Regions from separate parts of the Homo sapiens genome. Here regions 1, 2, 3 and 4 are each linked to region 5. The links are contacts of gene promoters, found by promoter capture Hi-C in human tissues and cell types (Jung and others, 2019). All regions are on one chromosome and are shown on one strand. Each heading gives the region's core, a stretch centred on a gene start or on the middle of the fragment in contact. The rest is flanking DNA. Distances are from core to core; before and after follow the strand shown.

Region 1 (4,600 bases), core at 1,876-4,375, 53 kb before region 5:
CTGTGAGCTGCGTTATAGGGCACTGTATTCCGGCAGATTTACTTAGTAGCTGCAGCTGAATGCATTATACCTGAAGTGGACTTTCTACCTGAAAGAGGATGCAGCAAATAAGATTCAAAAATGTGGAATTGGCTGAGTGGAAGAGGTGGGGCTTTGGATAGTGAGGTCTCAGGTATTTCAGGCTGCAAATCTGGTGACCCTTCTTATGTGGTGGCCGAACATTTGGTCAGATTGTCACCCGCTGTTCTTTGGGATACAGACCATGTGCCGTGGCAGCTTTGCTATTAGGATAAATAGTGGAAAAAAATTCAGAACCCTGGCATATGGCTATAGATTTTTTTTTTTTTTTCTGAAGGAGTGGTCTGTACTTCGATCCAAGTTAGCCAGTCTGCAAGAGGAAATGAGAGATCAATGCTTTACCTGTGGCCTGCATTCTAAATTCACTGACAATCCTATATTTTGGGTACTGCTGAGTTTTAAAAAAGAAATTTATTCCTACTAAACTGAGCAGGCAAGGACAGTGACAGGAAGCCTGGAGCCTTCATAGATTGGTAACTTAAGACTTTTCCATCCAGGCTCTTTGGATTTCTTTAGACAAATGCACAGTGGTATTACACTTGCTATCTCTCCATCATTATTTTGAATGACCTCAAGGCATTGGCCATTAAGCTATGGAACAGAGGACCGGGAACAACCCAGAGATCAGTAGGTGTATTAGTTTGTTCTCACGCTGCTAATAAAGACATACCCAGGACTGGGTAATTTATAAATAAAGGAGATTTAATGGATTCACACAGTTCTACATGGCTGGGGAGGCCTCACAATCATGGCAGAAGGCAAAGGAGAAGCAAAGTCACATCTTAAATGGTGGCAGGAAAGAGAGCGTGTGCAGGGGAACTCCCACTTATAAAACCACCAGATCTCGTGAGACTTATTCACTATCACGAGAACAACAAGGGAAATCCTGCCCTCATGATTCAGTTACCTCCCACCGGGTCCCTCCCACAACGTGTGGGGATTATGGGAGCTACAGTATAAGATGACATTTGGATGGGGACACAGCCAAACCATATCAGAAGGTAAAGGAAAGGAATCTTCTAGCTAAATACCATATCTAAGTGAAATCTTTGTCTGTGGTTATTCACATATGGAATTAATTGAGAAATTATTCCAACACTGGAAATTCTGTAAACTTTTGAGGACATTGTATTGCCGGAGGCTAATAAGAGCCTGTCATTGTTAAACCTCTAAGGTTATTCCTTTCCTCAAATTAAGACCAATAGGAAGTGGGCCAAAAATATCTGTGGCTTCAAAGGAAGTGATCTTCTATAATACCCATTTCATATGTGGCCATGGATGAAAAGAGACAAGGAATAATCTCCCCAGAAGCAGGACGGGAGGATGCCAGAATGGGTAACCGAGGACAGCACCTCTGACAGAACACAGGAGTCCTGAGTTTTCCTGCCTGGCGGTGTTTGGTGTTGACTTTGGCACTGTCTCTCCTATGTGACTTCCATTGTTCTCCTTTCTGAATAGGGGTTAGTATTGCTCCTGATTAAATATTAAATAATGGTTGAAAAGGAGCAGGGTAAGTGCATTATTAGTAGGTGCAGCCAGGTAGCCAGGTAGCATTTGCTTCATTTACCTGTCCTTCATCCTTTCTCTCTTCTTTTCCTTCTTTTTTTTTCTGTTCTGGAATTAAAATTTGCTTGGGTGCAGAGTAGTCATCCTGGAGATCATTAAAACAGAAACCACAAGCTAAGGATGATGGAGGAGAAGCAAGCTAGAAAGAATCTGGTTCCAGATGACTTCCTTGAGCAGTTTCATCAGCTCTGGACTGACTCGCAACTTCTAGATTCCTTGCCATCTAAAACATGTTTAGTTCCCTGAAGTTGAATTTTTGTGTAAATACTTGTTCGTGACCAAATTCTAACAAACCGTGGCTTGGTTGCCAAGTAAAATCAGAGGTCGTGGAAAAGAGAAGAAGGTCAAATATTCTTATTTTGGGAAGCAGTAACTGAATTGGTGGAGATGGCAGTGTGGTAGTCCAGGAGGCAAATGTGAGGTTTAGAAGGTAGAGGGTATGGTGCCTAGACAAGTTGAGGAGGCAGAAGAATGTGACCGTGTCTGGGGTCAAAATGGCAATTCAGAGGCAGGAACAATGGTCAAAAGGATAGATAAGGCAAAGGAGGGGGCAGCAATGCTCTCTTAGCTAAAAGACCCTCAGGGCAGACTAGGACCTGTCTCCAGCAAGACACACTCTACTTTAGCTCAGCTTCATTCTAGCAAACATCCCTTAGTGCAGGTTGGCAACCGTAGATGGAAGAAGCAGAAGTACAACTCCCTCACCTTCCTGGTATCCTGTGTAGAAGCATGTCTGAGTTGATGTGCAGCTGATCATATCACGGGCCTCGTGTTCTGTCTTTTTACTGAACAAGCACGAGAACAGTCATTCATAGTGATGAACCATCTGGGTTTAGGCTTGGGTGCCTGCTGTTGAGAGGAGCCGTCTGGGTATGCATTTGTTTCTCACTTCTGGTAAATTAGAGAAAAGTTAGGCTTAGGGATTCAGGGAAGCCACTATCCAGGCCTCCAAAATCACCCACAGTTAAACCTGTTTGGCTCTTCTCAGCCTGGGAAGCCATTTATTTGTCTTTCATACATTTTTTGATTTGCTAGTTGCATTTCTGTTGATCAGATGCACTATTAGGAATAGAGTCTCTTTGCCTAATGAAGCTATAATGAAATTCTAGTCAAGAAAAGCAACAGCATCTTAGTTACCTACATAAATATCTGAATCATTTTGTTGGTCTCTCTAATGTTTCCTGATTTCTGTTCTTGCATTTTAAGAAGCTGCAGAGAAAGAAGCCCTCTCAGACATAGCAGTCATCCCAGCCTCAAGTGGACCTAAATTTGGAATGCCTGAAATTGAAAGCTCCGATAATGGATTTGCTCAAATCAAGGAGAATAAAGTCCTTCCTCCTGGCACGAATAAAAATGGTCGCAACTTTAATTTAAGTGGCATGCACTGGATTTTGTAATTTTCCACCCCTCTTTAATCTACTGGAAAGAAAACACAAAATGATGTAAGAAAATGGGAAAATCTGCCCATTGATATTACATCACCCTTTTGCTTCTGTATTAGCCACAGTTCTCTAGAGAAACAGAACCGATAGGATATAGACATATAGGGAGACATATATATATATATAGAGAGAGATAATGTAGACATATAGATGTCATATATGTCATAAATATATAAATACATATGAATATTTTTAAATTTGATGAACATATTAATTAAAATATTTTAAATTTTAGATACATATATATATATAGAGAGAGAGAGAGAGAGAGAGATTGAGATTTATTGTAGAAAATTGGCTCACACAATTAAGCTGGAGGGCGAAGAGAGCCAATGACATAGTTCCGTCTGAAATCCAAGTCTCAAAACCCAGGAAGAGCCAATGTTTTAATTCAAGTCCAAAAAACAGGAGGAAATCAATGTCCCAGCTTGAAGGCAGTTAGTCAGAAGGAGTTCCCCCATACTCAACTTTCTCGTTCTATTCAAACCTTCAACTAACTGGATGAGGCCCATTCACGTAAGGGAGGGCTGTCTGCTTTACTCGGTCCACTGTAAACGTTCACTGCATGCAGAAACAGCCTCACAGACACACCCAGAATAAAGTTCAACTAAATATCTGGCCACCTCATGGCCCAGTCAAGTTGATACATAAAATTAACCATCACACCTTAAGTGAGATTAAAAGGTAGATGTTTATAGCCTAGATCTAGCTCAGAGGTCAGTGTTTTCAAAAATTTTTTTAAATTACTTGTTGTCAAACCAGTGGATCAGAGACTACCAGGAACACATCTGTAGTGAAAAAAAAAAATAGTTTTACTTATATTGTTTCAGAAAGAGTGGTCTCACTTTGGGGAAACCCCAGGAGCATTTCAGGAGGGAGTTGTTAAAGGGGTCTTTTAGCGTTGGGGCTTATGTTAGATGATTTGAGGAGGGATTAGGACACGGAGACTAGTATTAGATTTCAGACCGCTAAGAAGGTAGGAGGTGAATCAGACCACCTCCTTCCCATAGCAAGTCTGGGATCATATATGTACTGATTCTTAATTTTTCTACTCACTTTATCTATTATTTCTTGTTAATCAGCCCAAACTTCTATCTTTACAAAACGTTTTTGGCCGGGCGCGGTGGCTCACGCCTGTAATTCCAGCACTTTGGGAGGCCGAGGCGGGTGGATTACGAGATCAGGAGATGGAGACCATCCTGGCTAACACGGTGAAACCCCGTCTCTACTAAAAATACAAAAAATTAGCCGGGCGAGGTGGCGGGTGCCTGTAGTCCCAGCTACTCAAGAGGCTGAGGCAGGAGAATGGCGTGAACCCGGGAGGCGGAGCTTGCAGTGAGCCGAGATCGCGCCACTACACTCCAGCCTGGGCGACAGAGCGAGACTCAGTCAAAAAAAAAAAAAAAAAAAAAAAGTTTTTAGGACAAACCCTTCTATACTTTCCAAGATACATTGTATCTTCCTTTACTTATACTAAGAAGGTAGGTCAATGCAGAGATAGGGTATCTGAATGA
Region 2 (4,119 bases), core at 191-2,690, 36 kb after region 5:
ATGCCAGCAGAGTGAGAACGTAGAGGACAGAGACATTGCTCTCAGGTGGGATAATCTAGACAGGCTTCAGAGAGGAGGGCTTCTGATGAGTTAGGTTTGAATAGGTGAAATGGGAGGAAGGTTAGTCAAGTGGGAAAAACCGTGAGAGGGCAGACATGGAGGTGGAAGAGTTCTCTGAATGCTCAGAGAACAACACAGAGTCTCTTGGGGATGGAGCGTAGATTTTGCAAGGGACATGTGGTTAATCAACAATGAAGGCAGATTGGAGCCAGTTTGTGAGGAGCTTGAATTCTAGAACGGCGGTTTGGACTTTATTCCACAACTAATGAGTGAGAATTATACACTGTCAATCAGTGCCACATTTTTGAGCGCTGATTGAGCTATGTTTTTAGAAGTCTATCTGGCTACTATGTATATAATAGATTATAGAAGGTTATTTAGAATTATGGTTATTAGATCTAGGTGCAGTTTATTCTTTAAGGTTCATAGTAAATATATAACATATGTCTTAATTCTCAGACATAATTGAAGGAACCATAACCTCCCATCTTCATGTTGTTCTGCACAAATGATAGTGTTCTATGGTTTGAGAAAGAGAAGTTTGGAAGATGTGGAAGCTGAAATAGTTAAAAAAATCTTTTAATCTGCATGAAGATTTTTCAGTGTGCCTTTGGAAAGTGAATCTGATGTGCTCACCCAATCTCGTTATCTGTGGGAGTGCATAGAGCCCGAGTGAGGTGGAAGGGGGATCGAGTTTGAATCCGCCTGGGGACTCCAAATTGCTTGAAAACAGAAAGCTGTGAGGATAAAAAAAACTGCTTGTGCTTTTTGGTTCTTCTGTAGAGAGACCATTTTATTTTTCAGTGCATTTCTTTGGAAGATAGGAAGAGCAATAAAGTTCAAATTTGAGATATCTAAAAGTGACTTTGTTAGTCCACAACAATGGAATCCTAAAGAACACTTCTCTGTCATGATACAATTTAAGAAGAAATTTATACTACCTACTCGCCCCACCCCAGCTACAAACTGAATTTGGGAAATAATACTTTCACACCAGTTTTAAAAGTTTATAAATCTTCATAAAATTATCTTTTCCAATTCTATACTTTCTGTAGTGAGTGATAGTCAGTGTGTCTTCCAATATTCCAGTGGGAATCATTGTTAATAACAGCAGATTTTGTTATTTTTTATGCCCATTCTAATCACATAACATTGGGTATTTACATTGATGATATTAGGCAATTGTCCAGTGCAGCCTTTATTAAGCTTTGTATTGTAAATACAACTACATTTTAGTTTAACACAGTGTTGGAACCAAGAAGGCTTGTCCCCACACCCCACAGCACCCCTTTTTGTTCCTGCTACAGAAAGTGCATGCTTCAACACTGCACTTAATAACACTACTGCAACTGTGGATTTGCCTGACTATTCCTGTTAGTCTCAGTTTGTTGAGGAAAGAAGCACTGTTCCTCCTTTCCATGTTCTAGTGCCTAACACCAAACCTGGCACTTACAATGCCATCAGTTAATGCTTATTGAATGATACTATTTAATTAAATGTATAGATTGAATTTATGTAGATAACATTCACCCTTTTTAGGGTGTCAAGACACCTAGTTTGTTTTTACTACTCGAGTCAAACAGCCAGTCACTTAAGTGAGAGAAAACAAAAAGGTCAACCATTTGTTTAAGTTATGGGAGTGTCAAAGTTGCTTATCCATTCATTCATTTCTTTATTCAGAAGGCACTGTGCTTTGTTAAATCACTTTCCACAGTTATTATAGTGTGATAGTGCTTACTGTTGATAAATTCATTGAGGGATCTCTCCGAAGGATGAGCATTTATATTGTAGTGGAGAACTCAGAAAGTGTTCCTGGGGAAGGTTTTGAAGGAAAACTCATAGTTACATGAGGAACATAGAGCAAGGGGCCTAATATATCAGCAACAGCACCTATTAGGGCACAGAGTTGGAATTAGCATGATGCTTCAGGGAACTACAAGTAATTCAGCATGGCTGGGAAAACACAGGGAGAGTAGTTAGCTTCTTTGGGACATTTTCAAACTTTTTTTCTTTTCTTTACGTGGAGTCTCGCTCTGTTGCCCAGGCTGGAGTGCAGTGGCACAATCTCAGCTCACTGCAACCTCCGCCTCCCGGGTTCAAGTGATTCTCCTGCCTCAGCCTCCTGAGTAGCTGGGATTAAAGGCGCACACCACCAGGCCCAGCTAATTTTTGCATTTTTAGTAGAGACGGGGTTTCATCATGTTGGTCAGGCTGGTCTCGAACTCCTGACCTCGTGATCTGCCCGCCTCAGCCTCCCAAAGTGCTGGGATTACAGGCGAGAGCCACTGCGCCCGGCCTTCGAACTTTTTAAAAACAAAAATTAAATTATAAAACATTTTCTAGAATATGTTTAATGAGTGAAGTGAGATATGATTATGTTATCTTTTTAAAATTTATGTTTTTAAAAATAAACTTTTGGGTCAGGCATGGTGGTTCATGCCTGTAATCCCAGCATTTTGGGACGCTGAGGCAGGAGGATCACTTAAGGCCAGGAATTTGACGTTACGGTGAACTATGATGGTGCCACTGAACTCCAGCCTGGGTGACAAAGTAAGACCCTGACTCTAAACATAATAATATTTTTAATAAAATTTTATTTCTCTATCCCAGGAGTATTTCACAATCATTATGTAAACTTGGAAACATCACCTTTAATCCCTCCAGTTAAAGGCACTACCACCATTAATATTTTGTTGCATTTTCTTAGGGTATTTTTATACCAACATTTAATAGGCACCATTAACAGTAAAATCTATATTCTTGTATTTTTCTTTTATATTAGCATTTCATGTTTACATTTCATGGATGTATAACATGGGAAAATCAGTCAAGTCACATTTTTGTAATAAATCATGATTTAATGGCTTTTATTGTAGAAAGGGAGTAGAAAGCTAACATTTATTGACACCCCATGAAGATTTTTATATTAAATATTATCAGCCAACCAAGTTAAAGATGCCAGAGGCAACCATACTACAGTGTCCAGAGGGTAAGAAATGGTTATGGTGCTATCACATCTGTATGGATTTCAAGTTGAGCTTAGGTTGTTCATTTAATCATTTTAACAATCTGGTGAAACATTTGAAAAATCACACATGATCCACCTGTCTTCCTGAGGAGTAATTGATGGATCAGTATCCTTCGTTTGATCATCTTTTTCTGCTTTTTTGTTAAAAAAAAATTAAGTGTCGTGCATTTTTAAAGGGCTAAGTCCAGGAAGCCTTTTGTAAATGAAGCAAATCGAATATGTATTGCTTTATAATGATTAAAATATAAATGTTGATCATTTTTGCTTATAAAACAATAGCTCTACATTGAAAATTCTCAGGATAGTCTGGGCATGGTGGATTATGCCTGTAATCCCAGTACTTTGGGAAGCCGAGGCAGGTGGATCACCTGAGGTCGGGAGTTCGAGACCAGCCTGACCAACATGGAGAAGCCCTGTCTCTACTAAAAATACAACAACAACAACAAAAATAAGAAATTAGCCAGGTATGGTGGCACATGCCTGTAATCCCAGCTACTCGGGAGGCTGAGGCGGGAGAATCGCTTGAACCCAGGAGGCAGAGGTTGTGGTGAGCCAAGATTGCACCATTGCACTCCAGCCTGGGCAACAAGAGTGAAACTCTGTCTGGGAAAAAAAAAAAGAAAAAAGAAAGAAATTTCTCAGGATAGAAGCCTTTTAGATGCTGGCAAGGGCATATATGCACATAGAATACTTTAAAATGATGTCAAATATAAGAAATGACTTTTTACAGTGGAGAGCTCTTTGATGTCATCTACGTGATAGATTCCAACCAAGTCTCATTTTATATTTAATGTGAAATATTATAGATGTCTATAATTTTACCATTATCTTAAAAACTGAGATACTTCCATTAGTGTGTGATTGCTGGATTCCAGTATTGACCAAACAATTTTAATCTTTTGTCTATATATGTCTTTACTTGCCCATTTCTATCAGAATGATTACTCTCTGGTTAGGACCTCCTGAGTGACAGGGGATATGTCTGTAACACGTAGACAAATGTATTATTCAAGGAGTAAGTATTATGCTCA
Region 3 (3,982 bases), core at 692-3,191, 34 kb before region 5:
TCATGATGACAAATGATGATGAACACTTTTTCATATGATTACTGGCCATTTAAATATCTCCTTTTGTGAAATGCCTATTCAAGTATTTAGCCCAATTTTCTGCAGGGTTGTTTGATGTTTGCTTATTAATTTGCAGGATTTATTTATACATTTTTTATGTGTCCAGACCCAAGACTTCTCTCTCCACGTCACAATGTGCCCATAGATATGCAACCTGGAAGTGCAAGGAGCTGCCACCTTTTTGGGTAAAAATTTGACCACTGGGGGACAGGAATTGATGGATTAATAGTTACCCTTTTTATCCCACCCTGGACAAACATTCTGAAAGCCTGTTATATGTTTACACAGCCAGTCCTATTGAATTGAGCAACCAGTCACCCATATCAGAGGCCAATTCAATAATTTATCCTTAAACTTCAAAATGAAACATCTTTCTAGACTTTCCTGATAAATGATCTGTTCAGATTCAGAGTTTGGGATACCACAAAACTACAGGTGCTGTTTTAAGCTGATCTTGATGGATCATTTAAACAACAAAGTTCTTGTCTCTCTGAGAAGAGGTCTCAAGAAATCCAACTATGTCACAACCTTTGAGGGAATATAATGTTAATATTTGGAAGGAATGGATGCTAGTGATTATCTTGCCTGCCTGCAATGTTCATGTCAGAAGCTCTCTTACACCTGTCTGCCTCTGGAACTCAGCTTATCCCAGGTTGAATTGCTCTAAACAACATACAATATTTCGTAAATAAAGAGCCCAACTTCGTTCACCTCTAATTTCCATGCATTAACAGATAACTTTAAGTATGTATTTGCTATATTTATAACACTGTGCTAAAACCTTTATATATAGATCAGCAAATCCTCACACACAAAATAGTAAGTCTATTATTAGCTCCATTTGACAGGTGAGAAAATTGCACATAGCAGTTTAGTAACTCACCCAAGATTACGTAGCTCAAGTGTGTTGAAACACATTTGTGGGTTTTTGGTTCAAAATTCCTGTTTGATTAACTGCAAAGTTCCACTGCTTCACTTTGATCATAGTTCTCAATCCAAACATCATATATTGGTTGCCGATAGCACGTGACATAATTTCAAGTCCCTTGATATCACCACTGTGTTGTTCCTTAAGGCTGCTTCTCAGTGTTTTCCTATTGATGAGGAGGAGGAGGAGGAAGAAGAAGAGGAGGAGAAGGACAATGAATCACCTAGTTTGGCTTCCCTTATAAAATACAAAGTAGGTAAACTCTGGGGAAAAAAATGTCATCCTGTCCACTTCGAGAGGAACAGATGGCTCAAGCTTATAAGGAGCTAGGCAAACACAACTAGGAAACTGGAGCCTGGTCCTAAGCATACAGTGGGCTAATAAAAGAAAACAAACATTTAGTAACCAGCGCTGAATGAGATAACAAGAAAAATAACCACAACTATAATCACAGGGCTTTAAGCAAGCCAGGGGGAGCACAAAGGGAATGTCATCCATATAACACAGTGGTTGCCTTCCTATTTTCTCATCCTGAGAATGTTTAATTTCTGCTTTATTCTTAGTGACTGACTCAATGAAGGCAGAGATTAAAGTGGAAAGACCATGGGCTTTGGGGCTGCACATACTTGAGTTTAAAATCAGAATTTGCCACTTACCAGCTGTATGTCTTTGGGGACATTGCTTGATCTCTGAGGCTCAATTTTCTCATCAGGAAAATGAGATTGATAGAACAGCGTCTTTCAGGGATTTTGTGAATGTAGGTGTCTGGGATGGGTTTTCTGAGAAACATGATGAGATGGCAATTTGCATGTAAGAGTTTTATTGAGCTGTTCTCAATATTGACACCTTCAAGGGGAGGGGAAAATTAAGACTTGTTATGCAGTGACAGTGGAAACCTCCTCTGACGCTGTAAGAGCTCTGGAGATTAGATGAGTCCTCAGGATAATCCTGCCTATGGCCAAGCCTTTATGCTTTTCCACCATGGACCAGACATTGGATGTGAGCTGCTTCCAGGGAGGCCGTGTGACCTTGGGCTGGGTGGCTCTCCTTAGCTTAAGCAGATTCCCTGAGAGCTGATTCCCCAAGGGCTTGGAGAATGAGTGCTTCAGTTGTGAAGGTGGATCTGGGCAGTGCCCCACAGTGTCCACTAGAGCAGGTATGCCCCCCACCGCATGATTCAATAGATAACTCCTTACCTTACCTCTCCTTCCCACAGCCTTGTGCTTTTCCTTAAGATGTTGCAATTGGACTTCAAGCTGCCACTGTCAGGGTCCACCCTTGGCTTCCTCTGTCTTCCTGGTCCCAGTCCCAGCTCCCTTTTCTGCTAGTCTTTCAGGCAAGACCCAGCCAGTCAGTTCAGAGACTTTGAGAGTTTCCTGAAAGCTACCAGCTTTTTGAGCTCAGGTTCTAGAGTTATTTATCTTGGACATCTCTGTCCATTACTATGCATCTCTGCTTAGTCTAGATACTGGAGCTTAATCTCCAAATGTGAATCTGGCTCAGATCTGAAAAATTGCGAATCGCCAGACAGCTCAGGTAGAAGCCGACAAAGGAAGCCCCATTGAAATTGTTGGTATGGAGGTCAGGGCTTTTCCCATGATGGGTGGGTGGGAATAATTAGCTAGCTGCCATACAGTGCTTCCCACGTAGCCTGGAGGATGATTGAATTTTATTTTGTATGATATGCAAACCCTTCCAAAGCATCAGTGCTGGCTTTGATTGGTAGCAGCTAATATTTATTGAGCCCTAGTCATGGGTCACATGCTGGGCTAAGTGGTCCATGTGGATTATGCCACCTTGTTCTCGCTGCAACCTGATGAGGCTCCCACATGGAGGGCTGTATTTTCTCCATTTTGTAACTGAGAAAACTGAAGCTTTGAAATGATTTATTTATTAAGGGTCAATGTACTTTGAATCCAGGCAGTATGACTCTCAACATCTATGCATAAATTATGGTCTAAGGCATTGGGAGAGGTGCAGAATCCATACCTGCTCCCTTAGATCCAGGAATGACCCCTTTGTGTTAAGGAGGAGCCATGGGGTTTGTAGTGGATTGAATAGTGTACACCCAAATTTATGTCCATCTGAAACCTTAGAGTGTGATCTAATTGGAAATAGGGTATTTGCAGATATGATTTAAGATGAAGTCATCCAGGATGTAGGGTGAGCCCCAAATCCAGTGACTGGTGCTCTTAAAAGATTCGTGGAGGACACAGAGAAATAGACAGGAGGGAAGGTCATGTGACGATAAAGGCAGAGGCTGGAGTGATGCAGCCACAAGCTAAGAGAGGCCTGGGACCACCAGAAGCTGAAAACAGAGTTCTTCCCTAAAGACCAGAAAACGTATGGCCCTGCTTAGCCTTGGATTTCAGACTTCTATGTTCCAGAACTGTGCAAGAATAAGTTTCTGTGGGCTTAAACCACCATATTTGCAGTCATTTGTTATGGCAGACTTCGGAAATGAATAATAAGGTAAATAGAAATGGCTAAACTGGGAACCATTGGCTTTCTGGTTCTCAGGGCCAATTTTTTTCTATAAAATGAAGCTTTCAGTCTACATGACCTCGAGGAGCCCTTCACCTTTGATCCTAAATCATGCCATTCCCTAATACAATCTTGGTGACAGCTATTCTGTTTGTCACATTCATTAAGACCAGGCAGTTACCCAGCTCCTACATATGCCTTTTTAAAATGGCTTTTCTGCCACAAAAATCTTAAATAAAATGCAGTATAAAGTGACTTCAATTTTGAAAGTACCCTTCATTTGTTCTTGCCGTTTGTTCACCTCCTGAGCCAGGCACTTGGAGCACAAATGACAGCATCAGAGGTTAATGCGAGCATTTATATTTGCCTGAATTAGTCATTTTTTCCCCAATGGCCTGTGTCAGTAATGTCTAGGCCCTAGAGAGAACGTGTCTCTCAGAAGTGGAGGATCACATTAATCACCTGAAAAAGGCTGAAAAAGTGCAGCACTTTTTACAGCAGAGACAATGC
Region 4 (4,002 bases), core at 193-2,692, 56 kb after region 5:
TTACAGTGGTGTTAAAAAAGAAAGAAAGAAAGAAAGAAAAGAATGCCTGTCTTTTAGAGATCCCTACTGAAATACTTATGGTTGAAAAGACATGACGTCAGAAGATTTCTTCAAAATGATTTGGGGTGAGGGTAGGGTAGAGAGTGTAAATGAAACAGTAATGACCATGAATCAGTAATTTTGAGACTGAATCATACGTACACTAGAGTATACTATCATTTTTCTCTACTTTGCTCATGTTTAAAATTTTGTATGATAAGAAAAATTTTTCAAAGTAATTTGTTTTACTGAAAATTCCCAAGGTGCTCCCTATCTGAGTAGAAGCCAAAGTTTTTTGTTTGTTTGTTTGTTTGTTTTGAGACAGAGTCTCGCTCTGTTGCCCAGGCTGGAGTGCAGTGGCGTGATCTTGGCTCACTGCAAGCTCCGCCTCCCGGGTTCAGGCCATTCTCCTGCCTCAGCCTCCCAAGTAGCTGGGACTACAGGCGCCTGCAACCATGCCTGGCTAATTTTTTGTATTTTTAGTAGAAACGGGGTTTCACTGTGTTACCCAGGATGGTCTCGATCTCCTGACCTCATGATCCACCCACCTCGGCCTCCCAAAGTGCTGGGATTACAGGCGTAAGCCACCGCGCCCGGCCGGCCGAAGCCAAAGTTTTAAGATGCCTGCAGCTGATCCTCCCCCTTCACTTTGTTCCACTCACCCTCCTGCTGTTCCTGCAATGTGCTAGGCCTGCTCTCACCTCAGGGCCTCTACGCTGGCTGCTGTCTCTGCTCAGAATACTTTCCCCCAGATAAACCATGAATATTACTTCCTCACTTTCTTCAAGTCTTTGCTCAGATGTCAACTTCCTAATAAGGGCCCCATTTAATGTCCCATTCTGCCCACAGCTCTGGCCCAGAACTCCTGATCCACAGTGCTGATGATTTTCTAACATATTTGACATCTATGAATGTCATAGTATTTTTCTTCTTTACTCGATACTTCTGATATATCATTTGCACTAACTACTACATTTAAAGTATATTTTTGGAAGACTGAGCTGTTGGAAATGCCTTTTAGAATTGATAAAGGTAATGCACATTGCTTTAGATTCTATTCAAAAGGTCAGCATAAGCTTGTTTCTACACTTAAGTGCAGAGGTAGAAAACTTTTAAGAGATTACACTATTGTAAGTATCTTAAAATTGATAAGTTTCAAGAGGAAAAAGAATTATAGTTAGATCAGTTTACTTCCAAAATAACTTTGCCATTATTTTAATAAATTCACAATTTTTAATGAGGATGCTGGTTCTTTTGAATTGTGGCACACTTGCAGAATGTCTCTCACTCCATTTCCCCATTGTCCTTCAGCAAACACTTACACAACTTAACATGCTGCTCTCTCTACCAGTTCATCTTGACCTCCATAACCCTTAACCATCATCCCTAAATATTCAGGGTAACATGCTGTGAAAACTTCAATCAAGAATAAATCTCCTTACTTTGTGGACTTTCAAGCAAACACTGATGATTCTATTTGAACCCCTCAGTGTCATGACCTAAGCAGGGAATTTGAGAACTCGTTTGATGCTTTTACATATATGTAGTTAAGGTGCATGGGTGTAAATGCTGATTAAATTATCCAGTCATTGCATTACTTTACATTTCCACACAGCTTTCTTTGCTCTAGCATGTATTTGCTATGAGCTATTTCAGTGACCCAGGAATAGTAGCTCTGCAGGGTAGAATGTGAAAACCATGGCTGGTTCATTGATTAAATCAAATCACAACTAACTCATCATTGAAGACCTTGTTTTTATTCTGTTGTGCAAGATTCAGTGGGACTTGGGCTTTGGCATAGATATGGCTAAAAGGAAAGGCCTGGCAAATAAGAATATGAAAAGGTGCTTGACATATATCTCACTAGGGAATTACAAATTAAACTAACAATGAAATACCATTAACACCTATTAGAATGGCCAAACTCCAAAACACTGACAACGCTGAATGTTGGCAAGAATGTAGAGTAACAGTAACTCTCATTCATTGTTGGTGGAAATGCAAAATGGTACAGCCACTTTGGAAGAAAACTTGGCAGTTTCTTACAAAAGTAAACATACTCTTACTGTACAGTCAAGACATTACAATCCTTGGTATAACCCACATGAGCTGGAAACATGTCCACACAAAAACCTGTGCACAAGTGTTTATAGCAGCTTTGTTCATAATTGCTAAAACTTGGAAGTAACCAAAATGTCTTTTAGTGGGTGAATAGATAAACTGTGGTACCTCCAGACAATGGAATATTATTCAATGCTAAAATGAAATGAGCTGTCAAGCTATGGAAAGACGTGGAAGAACCTTAAATGCATGCTAAGTGAAAGAAGTCTATCTGAAAAGTCTACATACTATGTGATTCCAACTATTTGACATTCTGGAAAAGGCAAAACTATGGAGATGGTGAAAAGATTAGTGGTTGCTAAGGCTTAAGAAGAGTGGGAGGGATAAATAGATGGAACACAGGATTTGATTTTTGATATTTGATACCCTAATGGTGGATATATGTCATTATAAATTTGTCCAAACCCATAGAATATATAACACCAAGAGTGAACCCTAGCGTAAACTATGAACTTCGGGTGATTATGATGTAGCGATGTAGGTTTGTTGATTGTAATAAATGTACCACTTAGATGCAGGGTGTTGATAGTGGGGTAGGTTGGGGAGGGGACAAGGATTATATGGAAACTGTACTTTCCACTTAATTTTGCTGTGAACCTAAAACTGCCCAAAAAATTGTCTTTTTTTTTTTGAGACATGGTCTTGCTCTATCACCCAGGTTGGAGTGCAGTGGCGTGATCACGGCTCACTGCAACTTTGAAAACCTGGGTTCAGGCGATCTTCCCACCCCAGCCTCCCGAGTGGCTGGTATTACAAGTGTGTACCATCACTCCTGGCTAATTTTTACTTTTTTTTTTTTTTTTTTTTTTTGGAGAAACGAGGTATCTGTGTGTTACCTAGGCTCCTGGACTCAAGCAGTCTTCCCACCATGACCTCCCAAAGGATTACAGACATGAGCAACTGTGCCCAGCCTTTTTTTTTTTTTAAAGGCCTAATAAAACTGGGACGAGAGTACCTAAATGATGCTTTAATGTGACAGTTAAGGACTAAAATGAAAGACTTCTCCATCGTGCTCATATGTAATCGTACCAGGTTGTTATCTATTGATTTGCAAATAGAAGCATAAATAGATTTCAAAAATGAAAATTAACACTATATTTTGAAATTTACAGTGGATTAGATTTCATAGTCTTTTCTGTTTCTTGCAAAAGATGCTGGATATGTAGTGATACTCATTTCAAATCATTTCTGAAATATCTAGTTGCCATAGCAGCCAAAGCTGATGATGAAATTTCTATACAAAGCTCTCAGAAATGAGATTTGCTAAGAAAGTCTTTTGAATTGTTCAAGATAGTTGGCTTTTTCCTATCTCACCTTCAAAACATTTTTTTACTTCTAAGTTCTCTACATTTATTCTAGCACTAAAACTGTAGTATTTTTAGAGCTAAGAAAATGTATGAATCATCTAGGAGGCACACAAGATATGGTCAGTGTATGATAACAGGAGGGAATAATGGAAACACGGATCTTCCTGGACATTGTGAGGACTATTAGCAAGCCTAGAAATGTCAGAGTGAGAAAGGGAAACTTGAAAGTTTTCAGAATTGTACTGGCTCAGATTCGTTAGCCCTGTGTCTGCTTAAATATGTATTATTTCTTTGTGATTGATTCTATATTTAAGCTTGTACATAGTAGCGTTAAAATTAAAGTGGGTGAGCAGAGTTCCTCATGTCTGCAGAGATTACTTTGCCAGCTCTGGGCTTCCCTGGGGATGCAGTTTTGCAGCCTCTTGTTCTTTAGGTGCTAAATTATGTGACGGCACATGTGTTTCCAGACATAGCACGCGCAGCTCAATTGACCTTGTTACATTTGTTTTTGTATTTTTTTTCTCTAGAAGCTTAT
Region 5 (3,987 bases), core at 176-2,675:
TATTTCGAGAAGTCGAAAACGAAGAGAATTTTGCTGAAGAAGATTCTAAGTTCCAGAGGCTACAGTGGAAAGATGTGGGGAGTTGGAGTGGGAGACAGGTCAGACTAGAGTGTGTGTAGTTTGGGACAATGATATTTCTCCTGTAGTACTTGGAACAGGGGCTAGGTTAGATAAATATTTGTTCCTTGAGAGAAACCTGACAAGACCTGCATGGGGCTGGGGTAATACATTGGTCCACATGGACCCCTGTTTGAGTAGAAGTGTTATCTCCAATAAGGTCTAGTCTGCTTAGACCAAGGGGTCAGGAAAGGCTGACCTTGATTATCTTCTCCTTCTGTCCCTCCCTCTCCTCCACACCTGGCCCAGTAGAGGAAGGAAAACTAGATTTACAGCTGATCTTGATTATCTTCTCCTTCTCTCCCTCCCTCTCCTCCACAGCTGGCCCAGGAGAGGAAGGAAAACTAGATTTACAGCGGCCCAGCCCTTCCCCCTGAAAGCCAGAGGCACAGGTTGCTTTACTACCACCGAGACAAAAGTGATCTGTCTCCTTTATGTCATTCTAATCCTTACAGAAGAATTTGTGGCAGCAGTACGAAGACTATAGCTAGGAGGATCAGCACCTCAGAAGCTCTTTGAAAATTGCTAGAGGATGAGGGCAGTGGGCAAGAGGAAAGTTCCTCTGAGCACCTTCTGTTAAAAGGAGAAGCCAGGCCTTGGGGATGTTCCTTCAGTTTCACAAGTGGCAAGATTTTCACCTCCGGTTGGCAGCTTTCAAATCGTTTCCCATTTCTCCAACTTAGGAAGAAGCTGTGAAAACCGCAGGCAAACGGGGATGAATGATTCATTTGGTCCTGGCCATTTCCTTCATTCCTAGGGTGTCTCAATATCTCTCTACTCTGTTATTTAAGCATAATAATAATAATAATAATAATAATAATAATAATAATAATAATAATAATAAATCATCTGCTTCCCTGGGACTTTCAGCGGAGTCGTTAGGCACGTGATGAAACCTTGGTTTGCACGGGGCTCCATCCATCCATTCATCCGTGCATCCGTCCGTCCATCTGTCCATCCATTCACTAGACCACCCACCCACCTACCACCCACCCACCCATCGCACAGCCTTCCTCCCTTTCCGGCTTACACTGGGCGTTAAACTCCGGTCTCTCCAGGCCTCCGGCGCACGTACACACGCGCGGGCGAGCGGGCGGGGTGTGCGGGAGCGCGGGCTGGCCGCGCCGGGGGCAGGACTACAGCCTCCCGAGGGGCGCGAGGGCGGGAGGCCGGGGAGGCCCGGGAGGCCCGGGCGGTGTGGCGGCGGCCGAGCCGAGCCCATCCGAGCCGGCACCTTCGGACGCCCCTGTCCCACGTGACTGTCCCCTCCTCCCTCCTCCCAGTCGCGCGCACGGGCCGGGCGTCTCGACTCCCGCGCGCGCTCGGCTGGTCCCAGTCCCCGGGAGAAGAAGCGGAGGAGGGAGAGAGCCAGCGAGGCGGCCCAGGGGAGCGGGCGCGAGTGGCGGCTGCCGGAGCCGCCTGTGCACGGGCGGCGGCGAGGCGAGGGTGGCGGTCGCCTGAGCAGCTAGAGCCGGGGCGGCGCGGAATCCGCATCCGCCGCGAGTGTGATGAAGCTACCCTGCCTCGCTGCTCCGCTTGCCGCCAGCTGACACCGCCTGCACCCAGCCCGCCCGGGAGGGGAGACGCCGCGGGGCCGTGACCTTGGCGGAGGAGGTAAATAGGGAAGGCGGGCGGGGAGGAGGCAGCGCCACCCAGAGCCCTCCCGGCCCCCGGCCCGCACCCAGCCCTCGCTCTGCGCAGCGGGAGCGTCCGCGGGCGCAGGGCGGCCGCCCCCGGGAGCCCCGCGCCGGGGCTGGGCTACGGGCGCCGCGCGCACCCCGCGGTCCACGGTGCTGAAACTGCTGCCCGGCTCCGGCGGCCGCCGCGGCGCGGGGCACAGGCTCGCCTGCCATTTGCTGCTGCCGTGAGAGCGAGCAAGGGGAGCAGGGGCTTGCCTGTTTTCTCCTCTTTGGCTGGTTGCTCTGGAGGCTTCTGCAGTTAGGCTTTTACCCACGGTGACCCGGGTAAAATGGCCTGAAGGCTTGACCTCCCACTAGTTCTTGTTGCCGGGACATATTCTGGTGTCTTCTTGCAAAAATTAGGCAGGATTACCTCCGGACTTCCGAAGCGAAGTGGGGAGAAAGGAGAGCAGCCGGTGGCTGGCAGCGCAGGCAGGTGAAAGTAGGCGAAGCATATACTCCGGCTCTGTGTGGGAGACCCGGGGGAATAGAGAGGAAGCCCGTGCGCTGGAGAATGACACCGGGAATGGGCCTCTCTGATGGGCTGCAGGTGGGGACACTAGACAGATACCTAGGAGAAAGTGTGCTAACCCGCCCCCCACTCCCCCACCGCATCCCCCAGGTGTTGCCTTTCCACCCTTTGGGGAAAACATCACCAAGTTCAGATGCAAGTATTGGGAGAGAAGAGAACTCTGTACTAGGAAAATGCTACCCACGAGTTTTTAGGGTGAGCATCAAACACTTCTCAAAATGAGTATCCAGAAAATGAAGTCAGCTAAAACAATAACCAAATGGCTATTTCTACCTGGAAGATTGTAATTTCTTACAATTCCTTGAGGTTATTGTAGGTGTCAACTCACTTTTTAAAAAATCCATGTCCTGTGTCACTTTCTCCAGCCAGCCCCAGTTTGTAAGAACGCGCCATGTGGGGTGGGTGCTGTGAATGATGATGATGAATCAGGGGAGTCCCACTGGGATCTCACTGAAGTCTCTCTGACCCTTTGCAGGGCACACTGATAATTCTTGTATCTTGAGAGTGGACCAAGTTTTGGGTGACATGGCCCAGGGGAATAATTATGGGCAGACCAGCAACGGGGTGGCCGATGAATCACCCAACATGCTGGTGTACAGAAAGGTAAGAATGTCTTCAGTTTCTTGGAAAACGGGAAACTTCCGGCTTTCTCGATTTTTTTCCCCCTCTAGATCAGAGTATGTATCAACTTTGTGGCCTTGTGGATTTCCCAGATCATCAGTGATTATGTACTATATACGTGAAAGTGATCTGACATTCTCAAATGATGCATATGTGGGGAAACACACTGAAGTAAATGAGGCCTCCTCACGTGTTCCCTGCTGGTTTTGAATAGATTATTCTGTCCTGAGCAATGACAGCACGTTTGGGCATTCCAGATATTTTGGTTGTTATACACATGATTTAGTAGCATCCGTAATAATTTTAGAAGCTTTTTCTTATACCCCCTTTAAACATTTAGGTTATAATAATGATATAAGCATATCACATTTTAGAAATAAAAGTAGACCACTTTGCAATTTTGTGGCAAGAGAGACTGTGTCTGTGTAAATGTATGTGGTTTACTAATTTCGTTCTTGACTAAACAATTCTAGTCTTTTTTTGTCTTAGCCTAAATTATTTTTTACTTTCTGTTACTTTTATGACTTGGGGTATTTATGGGTATTTATATTCTAGTGCCGTATGCCTATTAAATCATTAAATAATATTTATCTTGCAGAGTTGCTTTTTTTTGGCCACAAATAGATTTGACAGCCTTATACATTTAATAGCAATGCTACTGGCAACAAACTTTTAGACACTGAGCAACCATAATAAAGATGCGTTTAACTATTACATGTGCTTTTGAGTGATTGCTTAGGCAGCTTCACTCTGGTTATCATCAACAATCTTACTAAAATTAAGGATGCAGTGTTCTTCTGCCCCAATCATTTTTATTGCATTTTATAGATGATTTTTTGAGTATATTATCTGGAGTGCTTATTGGGCAATATTTCTTTAGTTAACACTAACAATGGTAAAAAGGAAGTCATGCTTTGAAACACCCCAAAATTGTTAAAGGCTTTAATTAGAGAAAAGCCCATTGAAGAGTTCAAGATGTTTGCATTTCTTTCTTTTTCAGCAAGGGGATCAGAGCTGATTATGAATAAAGATGAAAGA

Evidence for each region. Contacts are between HindIII fragments. The study calls those that stand out against the background at their distance.
Region 1: a contact is called between a fragment that was not itself captured here and the fragment with the promoter of RGS7 in region 5, in 1 of the 25 tissues and cell types used here (dorsolateral prefrontal cortex).
Region 2: a fragment that was not itself captured here is called in contact with the fragment with the promoter of RGS7 in region 5 in 1 of the 25 tissues and cell types used here (ovary).
Region 3: a contact is called between a fragment that was not itself captured here and the fragment with the promoter of RGS7 in region 5, in 6 of the 25 tissues and cell types used here (dorsolateral prefrontal cortex, mesendoderm cells, neural progenitor cells and 3 more).
Region 4: a contact is called between a fragment that was not itself captured here and the fragment with the promoter of RGS7 in region 5, in 2 of the 25 tissues and cell types used here (aorta and dorsolateral prefrontal cortex).

Annotation. Positions count from the first base shown.
Region 1 is chr1:241,408,481-241,413,080 of GRCh38, reverse strand. No RefSeq gene overlaps it. Among named protein-coding and RNA genes, the nearest start is that of RGS7, 54 kb to the right of the region's middle. The HindIII fragment of the contact is 6,683 bases long and covers 1-4,600 here.
Region 2 is chr1:241,318,049-241,322,167 of GRCh38, reverse strand. The region is part of intron 2 of RGS7 (regulator of G protein signaling 7); the gene reads left to right. Among named protein-coding and RNA genes, the nearest start is that of RGS7, 37 kb to the left of the region's middle. The HindIII fragment of the contact is 8,539 bases long and covers 1-4,119 here.
Region 3 is chr1:241,389,497-241,393,478 of GRCh38, reverse strand. No RefSeq gene overlaps it. Among named protein-coding and RNA genes, the nearest start is that of RGS7, 34 kb to the right of the region's middle. The HindIII fragment of the contact is 5,447 bases long and covers 1-3,982 here.
Region 4 is chr1:241,298,904-241,302,905 of GRCh38, reverse strand. The region is part of intron 2 of RGS7 (regulator of G protein signaling 7); the gene reads left to right. Among named protein-coding and RNA genes, the nearest start is that of RGS7, 56 kb to the left of the region's middle. The HindIII fragment of the contact is 6,377 bases long and covers 1-4,002 here.
Region 5 is chr1:241,354,643-241,358,629 of GRCh38, reverse strand. RGS7 (regulator of G protein signaling 7) reads left to right here and starts at 1,425. Exons shown (of 19, transcript NM_001364886.1): 1 at 1,425-1,731; 2 at 2,804-2,931. The coding sequence starts at 2,854. LOC124904601 (a long non-coding RNA gene) reads right to left here and starts at 1,378. Exons shown (of 2, transcript XR_007067052.1): 1 at 1,148-1,378; 2 at 1-807. RefSeq lists a silencer at 1,524-1,573. The HindIII fragment of the contact is 13,432 bases long and covers 1-3,987 here.